Regions from separate parts of the Homo sapiens genome. Here region 2 is linked to region 1. Evidence: promoter capture Hi-C in 16 types of primary human blood cells and fetal thymus (Javierre and others, 2016). All regions are on one chromosome and are shown on one strand. The core of a region is centred on a gene start or on the middle of the fragment in contact, and the rest is flanking DNA. Distances in the headings are between cores, read along the strand shown.

Region 1 (5,723 bases), core at 1,185-3,684:
CAATAGCAAAGACTTGGAACCAACCCAAATGCCCATCAATGTTAGACTGGATAAAGAAAATGTGGCACATACACACCATGGAATACTATGCGGCCATAAAAAAGATGAGATCATGTCCTTTGGAGGGACATGGATGACGCTGCAAACCATCATTCTCAGCAAACTAACACAAGAACAGAAAACCAAACACCCCATGTTCTCACTCATAAGTGGGAGTTGAAAAATGAGAACATATGGGTACAGGGAGGGGAACATCCACTCTGGGGCCTGTCGGGGGTTGGGGGGCAAGGGGATGGATAGCATTAGGAGAAATACCTAATGTAGACAACGAGTTAATGGGTGCAGCAAACTACCATGGCACATGTATACCTACATAACAAACCTCCACATTCTCCACATGTATCCCAGAACTTAAAGTATATTAAAAAAAAAAAAAAAAAAGGAACTGGTAACAAAGAAAATCTCAGAAAGTTTCTTACTCTTTTCAGTTAAGAGAAGGATGGAATATATGTAAATTTAAATTTATATAAACATTTTTCCTAACTAAAAAAAAAACTATGTATGAATTTCAAACTTTTTTGCACCAAAAATTCGTACTCACTTGTTATAATGTATCTGAACAAGATCTAGTTTGAGGCACTAAAAAGGATAAGACATCAGCTTGAAAACAGCCCCTATCAGAGCAGCATGAATTGAAGCAAGAAAAAACATCAAATTTATGGTCAAGATTGGGTGGAAGAATGGTGAAATCAAGGATGCTTTACAAAAGTTTGATGGGGAAAATTCCCCCAAAGAAATCTGAAGTTTACAAATGGATAACTTGTTTGCAGAAGGGATGAGACAATGTTGAAGAGGAAGCCTGCAGTGGCAGACAATCCACATCGATTTTTGAGGAAAAGATTATTCTTCGGTGTGCCCTAATTGAAGAGGACCCACAATTAACAGCACAAATAATATACAACACCATAGACATTTCAACTGGTTCTACTTACACATTTCTCACTGAAAAACTGAAGTTGAGCAAACTTTTCACCCGATGGGTGCAAAACTGTTGCACCCAGATGAGCTGCAGACAAGAGCAGGGCTTTCAATGGAAATTGTAAACAAGTGGGATCATATATTGAAACATTTCTTTGAAGAATTGTAACAGGAGATCAAACATAGCTTTCTCAGTATGATTCTGGATCAAAGCAATAGTTACCAAGAGGTGCAAGTGGTCCAGTCAAATCAAAAGTAGACTGGTCAAGAGCCGAAGTCATAGCAGCAGCTTTTTGGGATGCTCAAGGTATTTTGCCTGTTGACTTTCTGGAGGGTGGAAGAGCAATAACATCCGCTTACTATAGGAGAAAGTGAAGCAAAGCTTTAGCATAAAAACACCTACGAAATCTTCACCAGAGAGTCCTTCTCCATCAGGACAATGTTCCTGCTCATTCCTCTCTTTAAATAAGGGCATTTTTCCAGGGATTTCGATGGGAAACTATCAGGTATCCATCTTACATTCCTGACCTGGCTCCTTCTGACATATTTTTGTTTTCTAATCGTGAAAAATCTGTAAATGGCACCCATTTTTCTTCAGTTAATAACGTAAAAAAGCCTGCATTTTCATGATTAAATTCCCAGAACCCTCAATTCTTTACAGATGGACTAAAGAGCCGGTATCATCACTTACCAAACTGTCTTTAACTTGATGGAGCTTACGTTGAAAAACAAAGTTTATATTTTTAAATTTTATCTTTTAATTCCATTTCCCATGAACTTTTATTCTTTTAAAAACAAACCCAAGTATTTTAATTCTACTTGCCTTTTTTACTTATTACACACTTCGGGAGATTTTTTGCCATATGGAATCACCTCATCCCTTGTCACGATTGCATAATATTCCATAGTAGGAATGTTTCATGATTTATTTCTTCATTCCCCCACTGATTTCAATTTTCTGCAACTGCAAGCATTGTTCATAATTCTGTACTGTTTGTGAGCCTATATAGGAGTATCCGTGCACAAACCTTTTTATGCATTGTGCGAGGGTTACTCTGAGATAGACACCAAGGGAACTGCTGGGTCATAAATCCAATTTTTTCAAAGTAAATCCGCTTGCGAACCCGGAACCAAGTCGATTTTTCCCGCCCCGCCAGTTCCCTGTTCAGGAGAGTGCAGCCGTGATTGGCGCGTTCACTCAGGCCAGGGGCGCCCCAGGTCTCAGGTGCTAGGAGCGCGGTGACCTACCACCCTCCGGGCACGCGTTCTGGCCACGCCTCGCGGCCCCTTTCATTGAAAGAGCCCGTAGGGATCACGTGAAAGAACACTGCAGAGTGCGTGACGTCACGACGCTCACACCAATGGGAGCCTCTGTTTATGTCGGGAGCCATCAAATAGTCATCTTCCCCCTACCATCCCCCGCCCACTCTCCGTCGCGCTGCGCTGCGTCGCTTTCAGCCTCTGGTGAAGGGCGGCGCGCTTAGGCAGGCGGTGGCGCGGCTGGAGTGCCGCGGGGAGGGCTGTGCCGGTTGCTTTCTGCAGCCGCATCTCGGCCAGCTCTCCTCGCCGTCCCCGGGGCGCTGTGCGTCTCCAGTCCGGGACCGAAGCCGCCTGCCGTAGCGGGCGGCCAGATCCGCGTCCCGCCTCAGCGGCCGGAGGACATGCGGGAGAGAGAATGAGCCAGAGGGACACGCTGGTGCATCTGTTTGCCGGAGGGTAAGGTCCTGGCGGGGCGTGCGCACTGGGGCTGAGGGTGCTGGGGCCGAAGACGCAGGCGAGGGGGGCGAGGGGGGCCGAGGGGGGTGGGGGGGTGGGGGGGCGGGAGTGAGGCCTGGGCGGGGAGCTGCCACGGGCCTGCGGGTGAGGGGAGCGACCCAGCCCGTGGGTGGTGAGGGGGGCTCCGGTTCGGGGAAGCAAGGGGGTGAGGCCCGGGCCCGAGGGCGAGAGAGTGAGGCCCGGGCAAAGAGGGTTGAGGCATGAAACCCGGGCCGGGAGTGAGGTTTTGGGCCCGCGGGGCCGGGGTGAGGCGGAGGCCGAATCCATGCGTCTGAGGAGACGCGGGCAAGAGCTGGGGTCGGCGCTTGATTACCCGGACGCCGCTGGACCTGGCCGCACGCCGCAATCTAGCAGGCGTCGGGGATCCAGGGCCGCTTTGAGGAGCCTGGCTTCGGATTTCGCGTAGGTTGCATGGCCCAAGGGGACGGGGCGGAAAGTGCGGAGGCTGAGGACAAAATGGGCGCCGGAGACTCCTTTAGCCCTCGCTCCTTGCAGCGCTCGCTTGGGCCTCTGCACGTCACTCACGCCCCACCTCGGACCTCGGGCCGCTCATTTCCGGGCTCGGCTTTGCAAGGTGGGTGGTAAGGGGGCTACGGGATCGAGCGGGGAAGGCTTTGGTATTCTCCCGTGGTTGCTGTAGGGTGTTTCTAGCCCTTGGAAAATTTCTTGCCCGAGGTTTTCCAGGTGGTGAATGGGGTGCAAAGCTTTCCAGTACCTTTGGGGTCAGATTCCTTTCGAGAAAACCACCCCTCTTGAACACCGCTTGCTTTTCTGCTGCTTAGGAGAAAGTAGGAGTGGAGAGAGGTCAGATTTTTTGAAGATAGTGTTAATAGTTACTATGTGTGTGCAAGATTAGGACTAAGCCTAAAGTCTTAGTTCCCTGATTGCCAAAATGAGTGTTAGAGCTTCCAGTTTAGCCTCCTGTTTAGATTTGCTCCTTCTAAATCATTTGGAGAATCATAGCAATTTTAAGAGTTACTTATTTGGAGGATTATAAAGAGTTTTCTTATCAAAAATGCCTTCGGTGAATTATGCTGAGACTCTTACCGGCATCTTCTTAAATCCTGCAGTTTTTAGATCGACTTTTAAGAATATGAAAGAAATACACACGCAGTTCTATTCACGGTGCCTTGCTTTGAGTTGGACATATGGACTCTATTGAGCCAGTGATGGCAATACTTTCTTTAGGTTGGCACACTTTCATCAACAAATATTTGTTGTACACCAATTATGGGCCGGCCACTGTTCTGGCATAAAAACAATATTTTTCTATTGATCTGTGAGACCCAGTTTAGGCAGTTTGCTTTCCATATTTCTGAAATGTTTACTGCCAATAATCAGGCAAATTAAATCTTTTTAAAAAAATTCTGTAGCTATGTAGATGCTCTTGAAAAGATCTCATGCAAATAATTGAGCTCCCTCTTGTAATTAGATCTATAACCCTGAAGTGAGGAGACCGCAGATGTAGTCTAGCACTATTTTAATTTGGGTGAAAAATGGACACTTTTATTTCAATTGCTTCATCTATAAAATTAGGAGGTTGTATTATATGATCTCTAAAGCCCTTCTCTAGCTCCTAACATTTCTATTATTCTGCGTTCAGGATTCATGTATCAAGTTTAGTTAAAAATGGGGCATACTTATATTTGAAATAAATGTTAGCTTGATTGCACTAATTTCCCACTTTGGATTAGGATCATCATTTTGTTATAAAAACATGTAAATATAGGTTTTCTGGTTTAAGAACAGGAATGGGAGGTGTTTGTAGCATCTAAACACACAGATTAGGAGCTCCATCCCCTCCCCCCCAGTCTAGCATATGTAGTTAGAGTATTAAATGAGATATGGTATGTAGGATTTGATACAAGATAGGTGCTCAGCCGTATAATTTCTCTTCCTTTGCATCTCATCTTGATTTTATTTTTATATGTGGTTACATAAGTGAGTTCAGTAAAACACACCTTATCTTTTTAAAGGAAGCCCAGTATATTTTAAAAGAACCAAGAGTAACCTTTCACAGAGTATTTAATCTTAGGCAAGGGTTTTCCGAATATGGAGCCTTTAAGTTGTTTTTCTGATAAGTAGAATTGTAATATTCAAATATGTTTATCGGAATCCCACATTTCTAATAGCCTAGTAGCTGTATTGTTAAACACCAGCACTGGACCTTGGTTCTGGGTGAAATACTCACATGCATAACTCGTGCTTTCTTTAAGACACCCTTTGATCCCATTATGCTTTTGCCAGAGTTAATATTCAGAGTTTGTAAGGTCAGTAGTTAGGTTAATTGAGTTAAGGAACGATATCATGACAGCCTGTAAAAAAGGTGTAAATGTGATTTAATTTTAGCTGTACCTCTAATGTATGTATATAGAGATGAAAGCACTATTAAATGTATTTTTAAAGACTGATAGAATTGTACATTGTCTAGTTATTGTATCAGCTGCATATATCTACAGAGGCAGCTCATTTTTTTTCTATTTGAGGGAGATATTGTCTCAAATAGGAGCTATATACCTTAAGATTTTAAGTGGATGAAGTATTTTCTTTGCAGCTCTTATGACAGATAATTTAATATATGTAGTGAGTAAAATCAAAGATGATCTAAGAACTGTCTATTTTTATATCCTGGAGCTCATTCATTTGCTCAATCATTATTATTTATTCAGTAGGAAATTCCCATTTGGGTATAATGAACGATATTTGTTAAATTATTTCACCTGTTTGCTTGAAGATCAGGGCAGAAGTAGAATACTTAAAAGTATAATTAATGTGATTTATTTCCGCTTCACTCTGACCATATTTTTATTAGTCTCATTTCCTTAATTTTTACTACCTCTCCTTTTCCTCTGTCTTGCTCTGTTTAAGCTGCTATTACAAAATACCAAAAACTGGTGGCTTATAAATAACAAATATTTCTAACAGTCCTGAAGGCTGGGAAGTTCAAAATTAAAGCAGTAACAGGTTTT
Region 2 (5,446 bases), core at 1,160-3,659, 370 kb after region 1:
CGCTCTGTCGCCCAGGCTGGAGTGCAGTGGCTTGATCTCGGCTCACTATAAGCTCTGCCTCCCGGGTTCATGCCATTCTTCTGCCTCAGCCTCCCAAGTAGCTGGGACCACAGGCACCTGCCACCATGCCCGGCCAATTTTTTTTTTTATTTTTAGTAGAGACAGGGTTTCACCGTGCTAGCCAGGATGGTCTCGATCTCCTGACCTCGTGATCCGTCTGCCTTGGCCTCCCAAAGTGCTGGGATTACAGGCGTGAGCCACCGCGCCCAGCCCCAAGCATCATCTTTGAAGCAGAGAGTAAGCCTTCACCAGTCCAGTCCTTGATCTTGGACTTCCTTGCCTCCAAAACTGTAAACAATATATTTCTGTTACTTATAAATTACCTAGTCTAAGGTATTTTGTTAGAGCAGCCTGAATGAGCTAAGACAGAGGGCAATCAGGAAACTGATGTTCTGATCTTCTGGTGAGGTTCTTAACCAGGGCCCGACATATGGGTTTCAATTTTGCTTTCAAAACAGTGTGGATGTAAAGATGTGTGTTTATCCAGGAAGAGGGTTCACAACTTTCTTTGGATTCTCAACAGAATTCAGCACACACGAAATATTATGTTCAGAGCTACTGCTCTGGGAATAAGAACCTCAGCAAACACATTTCAGATAAGCAAAGCCCTTGTCTGAATTCAAGCCCATTTCTATCTCCCTCCCATCAAGCCAGAGTGGCAGAAGATGACTAGGAAGAGTCAGAGGACCTTAGAGGAGGTGGATGTAGCCAAGAGAAAGGATAAAGGCTGAGCTGTTTGAAGTTTCCAGAGAGGACTGAGGAAGTCAACCTGGGTCCTTCTTGTGTGGAGGTCACACTTCGCCCAAGATAGCAGAGGCCGTTTAAACTGAGATGGATATATTTACCCTTTGTTTGATGCCAGGAGTATGTGATCATGAATTGTTATGTGGCTGTGTGTACTACATACCGGTGTGTTCACAAGGGTAGGTATAACTGAGCTGTGTGCATAAGTGAACGAGTGGCCTTTGGGTTTAGTGTGAGCATCTGAATGGTTTGGTGAAGGGATGTGCACGTGCATCTTTAACCATTTACCCATCAAGCCTCTCATTAAGTTAAGACAGGTTACGGAAAAGAATTCCACTAGGTGAGAGTATCTGCAGACAGGCCTACAGCCCACACCAGAAAACTGGGAATCCTCAACTCGCCCCACTCCCTGATCCCTCATCATCCACTGAATCCATGCTGCCACTCCCACCATCAGCCCCCATCAACTCTCCCTGGGCTGCTGCTCAGCCTTCAATGGCCTCCCCCAAAACCCTTCTGAATGAACTGCAGCAATAGTGATGACGGTAAAATGACTTTTGGGTCACAGCGCGTCTCCCCTGAAGCGAACAACGGCTTTCCATTGTCGGAGGATACTGCCCATCTCCTCAGTCTGACTCGAGGGCTCTTTCAAGGTCGACTCTGGGGTAGTGAGGTCCCCGGCTTTGGGCGCGTCTCCCCTCAGTCGGCTCGTATCCCACACCCCTTCCCCCTTGGATGCCTCGTTCTCTGGGGCCCTTTGGCGCTGCCCCTGCGTCCCCATCATGGAAACTACCACCTGCTGCCTAACTGCCAGACGCAAAAGTGCCCAAGCCTGTCTCTCACGTTCCACCCCATAAACCTTCCCCACCCGACCAGAAGCCAGAGAGACCACAGGTCGAAGCAGGACCACGCAAGGACGCGCACGCCTCTTTCCCACGCCGCAGAGCGATAGAACCCGCAACAGGAAAACGGAAAGGCCGTGCGCCGGAAGAACAGGTAGGGACTACGACTCCCAGAAGCCTCTTGACAAGGACTACATTTCCCAGAAAGCTCCGCGCGGTTCCCACCCCGGAACTGCCTCTGCTTTCGAAAGCGGAAGGCGGGCCAACCGGGCAGGGAACAGGGTTTCTGAAGGGATAGACCGGTGGGCGGTGTCGCCGGGTGTCTACCTCCAGGGGTCGTTCGTGAGCCAGAGAAACCCGGACTTAGGAAGGAAGGGGCCTGGCCACAGCCCTTCCGCTGTTGGCTGTGCATTGCCCTTATTCCCAGCTCATTCTCTGTCGTTGAGTCGAGCAAGGAGGGTCAGACAGAACCAGGTCCACCACGTTTGTGTCTTTCCGCCAGGTGAGACTTTTACTGATGCTATTCCAGTCATAAAAGCCAGGAGCTACATGGAGTTCCCAAGGAGGCAATTCCCCTAACACTACCCGCTCACTCGCTCACTCCGTAGTCAGAGCCATAGGCACACAGGCTTCAGCCACTACACCAAGTCAGTATTGCAAAGCATACAAAATAGTCTACTTAGTCAACATGTTAAATGTTGTAGATTAAATATTCCACATCAAGCAGGGTAACATTTAACATCAAGAGCAAAGGAGATAGATAGGAAAAGGGGTTAACAAACTAGTCCCAGGAGAGACAAGGTGTCCTGGCCTCAATGTCTTGCAAGGAAGAGTCTTTGATGTGGGCAAAGCCTTAGGCAGCAGATGCCGGGTGTTTATCATGGGCGACAGCAAGATAGGGTCTGTTAAGACGGCCATTTAGAGCTAGAGAAGTCCTGCTCTTTTTATGGCCACGGGGGTCTTCTGGTGACGACTGATAGTGAAGGAGTGTGCCTGTTTATGCCCGTATTTGGTTGGATACACTCTTTTTTGGTTAGGCGAACATCGGGACTCTGTTGGCATGATGCCTTTTGAAACGTAAAGTGGAGTCTTTTGCTAAGATGGAGTTACTTATGTCAAGGGTGTTCTATACACTCCCTCTGCCTGCTCTGGCTTTGCCTGTGGCCAGTACTTGCTCTCTGCCCACCTCTTGGTGTCTCTAGGGGGTAGAGGCTGGTGGCTAGATGGTCTGTCCCTCGCCCTTATCTCCAGTCCTGCATTGCTTATCTGCCGCTTGGAGGCGGTGACCATCTTGACTCTAAGAGCCAAACCCACAGAGCCCTACATGTGAGTTCCACAGCTCTTCTACTTCTGGCTGTGGCTGTCGGAGGAGGGGCTTCAGGCGGTGGAGACAGGCGTGGACAGTAGCTGGGGGGTGGCGGGGAGATCTGTGGCTCCTGATCTGCCACCTCTGTTCCCAAGAAGATAATTTTCCTGTGGCCTGGGCTCATCCAGCTTATCTTCTCAAATGCCTGAGTTCTGTAGGTGGCCGGCCTTCTTCCTCACTTCCTCCACTCCCAGCCTTATCCCTCAGACCCTAGCAATGGGCCCCATGGCATATTTTCACCTTTCCCCTTTAGAGCCACTTAGAGGACCTGTCGAGAAATAGACGTAACTGGATGAACTAAAACAAGGATGAGGCAGAAACAACTTTCCATAAGACATGTCCACCAGTGTGCCATGTCAGTTTACCGTAACCATGGCTACACCCGGGAGTTCCCGCCTCTTTCCATGGCAATGACCCGATGACGCAGAAGTTACTCCCCTTTTCCTAGAAAATTCTGCATAAACCAACACTTAATCTGCATGCAATTAAAAATAGGTATAAATATGACCATAGAACTGCCCTGAGCAGCTACTCTCTGCCTATGGGGTAGTCCTGCTCTGCAGGATCAGTCATGGAGCTGTAACACTGCCACTTCAATCAAGCTGTTTTCGGCTACCCTGCCACCAGCTAGCCCTTGAATTCTTTACTGGGCAAAGCCAAGGAAAAAGCCACATTTTGTGGCTCTCCTGTCCTGCATCACAACCGCTCCTAGGGAGCTACAACCACTGGTAACTGAGTGTCTTCTGACAGACAGTTTCATGAAGTACAGGCTTCCCAGAGGTGCCTGTCCCTTCTCCCATGTTGCTCCATGTTACCACATTTCCTACCTGGGTAGACCTTTGGAGATCCCTGAGATCCTTTTAGGGAATCTGCAAGGTCAAAACTGTTTTCACAATAATACTAAGTTTTATTTGCATTTTTCACTGTAGTGACATTTACGTTTAAAATCATAGGTAAAACTGCTGGAACCTTGGTGTGATTCAAGGCAGTGGCACCAAACTATATTGGCAGTTACTGTATTTTTCACCAGTATACTTGTAGGGGAAGGGGATGGGAAAGCCAGTTCCACTTAATGTCCTTAATGAAGCTGTAAAGAGTATTCATTTTACTCCATTTTGAGCCTTGATTACATGACGTTTAAATATTTTGTGTGACAAATGGGAAGTGCGCATAAAGCAAGTCTGCTGCACACCAAGGTATTATGTCCTGAGGAAAAGCAGTTCTGTGCTTGAGTTCGTAGCTGAACTAGACCTTTTTTTCTGGAAAACACCTCTTTTATTTTCATTGTATTTTTGCAAACTTTTATTTATTTATTTATTTTACTTTAAGTTCCAGGATACATGTACAGAATGTGCAGGTTTGTTACATAGGTATACATGTGCCATGGTGGTTTGCTGCACCTATCAACCTGTCATCTAGGTTTTAAGCCCCGCATACATTAGGTATTTGTCCTAATGCTCTCCCTCCCCTTGTCCCCACCGCCGACAGGCTCCAGTGTGTGTTGTTCCCTTCCTTGTGTCCATGTGTTTTCATCGTTCAACTCCCACTTATGAATGAGAACATGCAGTGTTTGGTTTTCTGTTCCTGTGTTAGTTTGCTGAGAATGATGGCTTCCAGCTTCATCCATGTCCCTGCAAAGGACATGATCTCATTCTTTTTGATGGCTGCATAGTATTCCATGGTGTATATGTGCCACATTTTCTTTATTCAGTCTATCATTGATGGCCATTTGGGTTGGTTCCAAGTATTTGCTGTTGTGAATAGTGCTGCAATAAGCATACGTGGAAAACACCTCTTTTGATAACTGATAGTATGATTGGGACCTGAGTATTTAATAGACATTTTCTAAAAAAAACAAAGTAAGCTAATCACTTCAAAGGAAACAACTGACATTATTTGATGCCAATGAGAAAATTTGAGTTTTCAAGAAAAAGGTTAGAATTTTGAAAAACTTATCCAGGCTGGACGTGGTGGCTCACGCCTGTAATCCCAGCACTTTGGGAGCCAAGGAGGACAGATCCCTTGAGGCCAGGAGTTCGAGACCAGCCTGGGCAACGTGGCAAAACCCTGTCTCTACAAAAAAATTAGCTGAGCGTGGTGGTGTGTGCCTATGGTCACAGCTGAGGCTGAGGCAGAAGGATCACTTGAGCCTGGCAGGTCAAGGCTGCAGTGAGCCACGTTTGTGCCACTGAACTTCAGCCTGGGTGACAGAGTGAGACCCTATCTCAAAAAAGAAAGAGAAAGGAAACATATCTGCCACCACAAGCTTAACAACATCCCAATACTTAAAAAGTTTTTCTGATGAGCTTGGTGATGGTATTAATAAACGTGATTTTAAAAAATATTGAATAATGAAATGTGCCAACATTTGGAAGATCTGCATAACTCCATGCAGAAAAAAAAAAAACAACTTCACTTTTTTTTTTTTTTTTTT

What was found. Contacts are between HindIII fragments. The CHiCAGO score rates a contact against its expected background, and 5 or more counts as called.
Region 2: a contact is called between a fragment that was not itself captured here and the fragment with the promoter of SLC25A36 in region 1, in 1 of 17 cell types (fetal thymus). The highest score is 5.4, in fetal thymus.

What each region holds. Positions count from the first base shown.
Region 1 is chr3:140,939,402-140,945,124 of GRCh38, forward strand. SLC25A36 (solute carrier family 25 member 36) reads left to right here and starts at 2,435. Exons shown (of 7, transcript NM_001104647.3): 1 at 2,435-2,694. The coding sequence starts at 2,654. RefSeq lists enhancers at 2,409-2,778, 2,872-3,719, 3,359-3,588. The HindIII fragment of the contact is 2,098 bases long and covers 1,359-3,456 here.
Region 2 is chr3:141,309,957-141,315,402 of GRCh38, forward strand. LOC124909441 (a long non-coding RNA gene) reads left to right here. Exons shown (of 4, transcript XR_007096119.1): 3 at 1,681-1,800. Among named protein-coding and RNA genes, the nearest start is that of ZBTB38, 56 kb to the right of the region's middle. RefSeq lists an enhancer at 1,684-1,873. The HindIII fragment of the contact is 5,733 bases long and covers 1-5,276 here.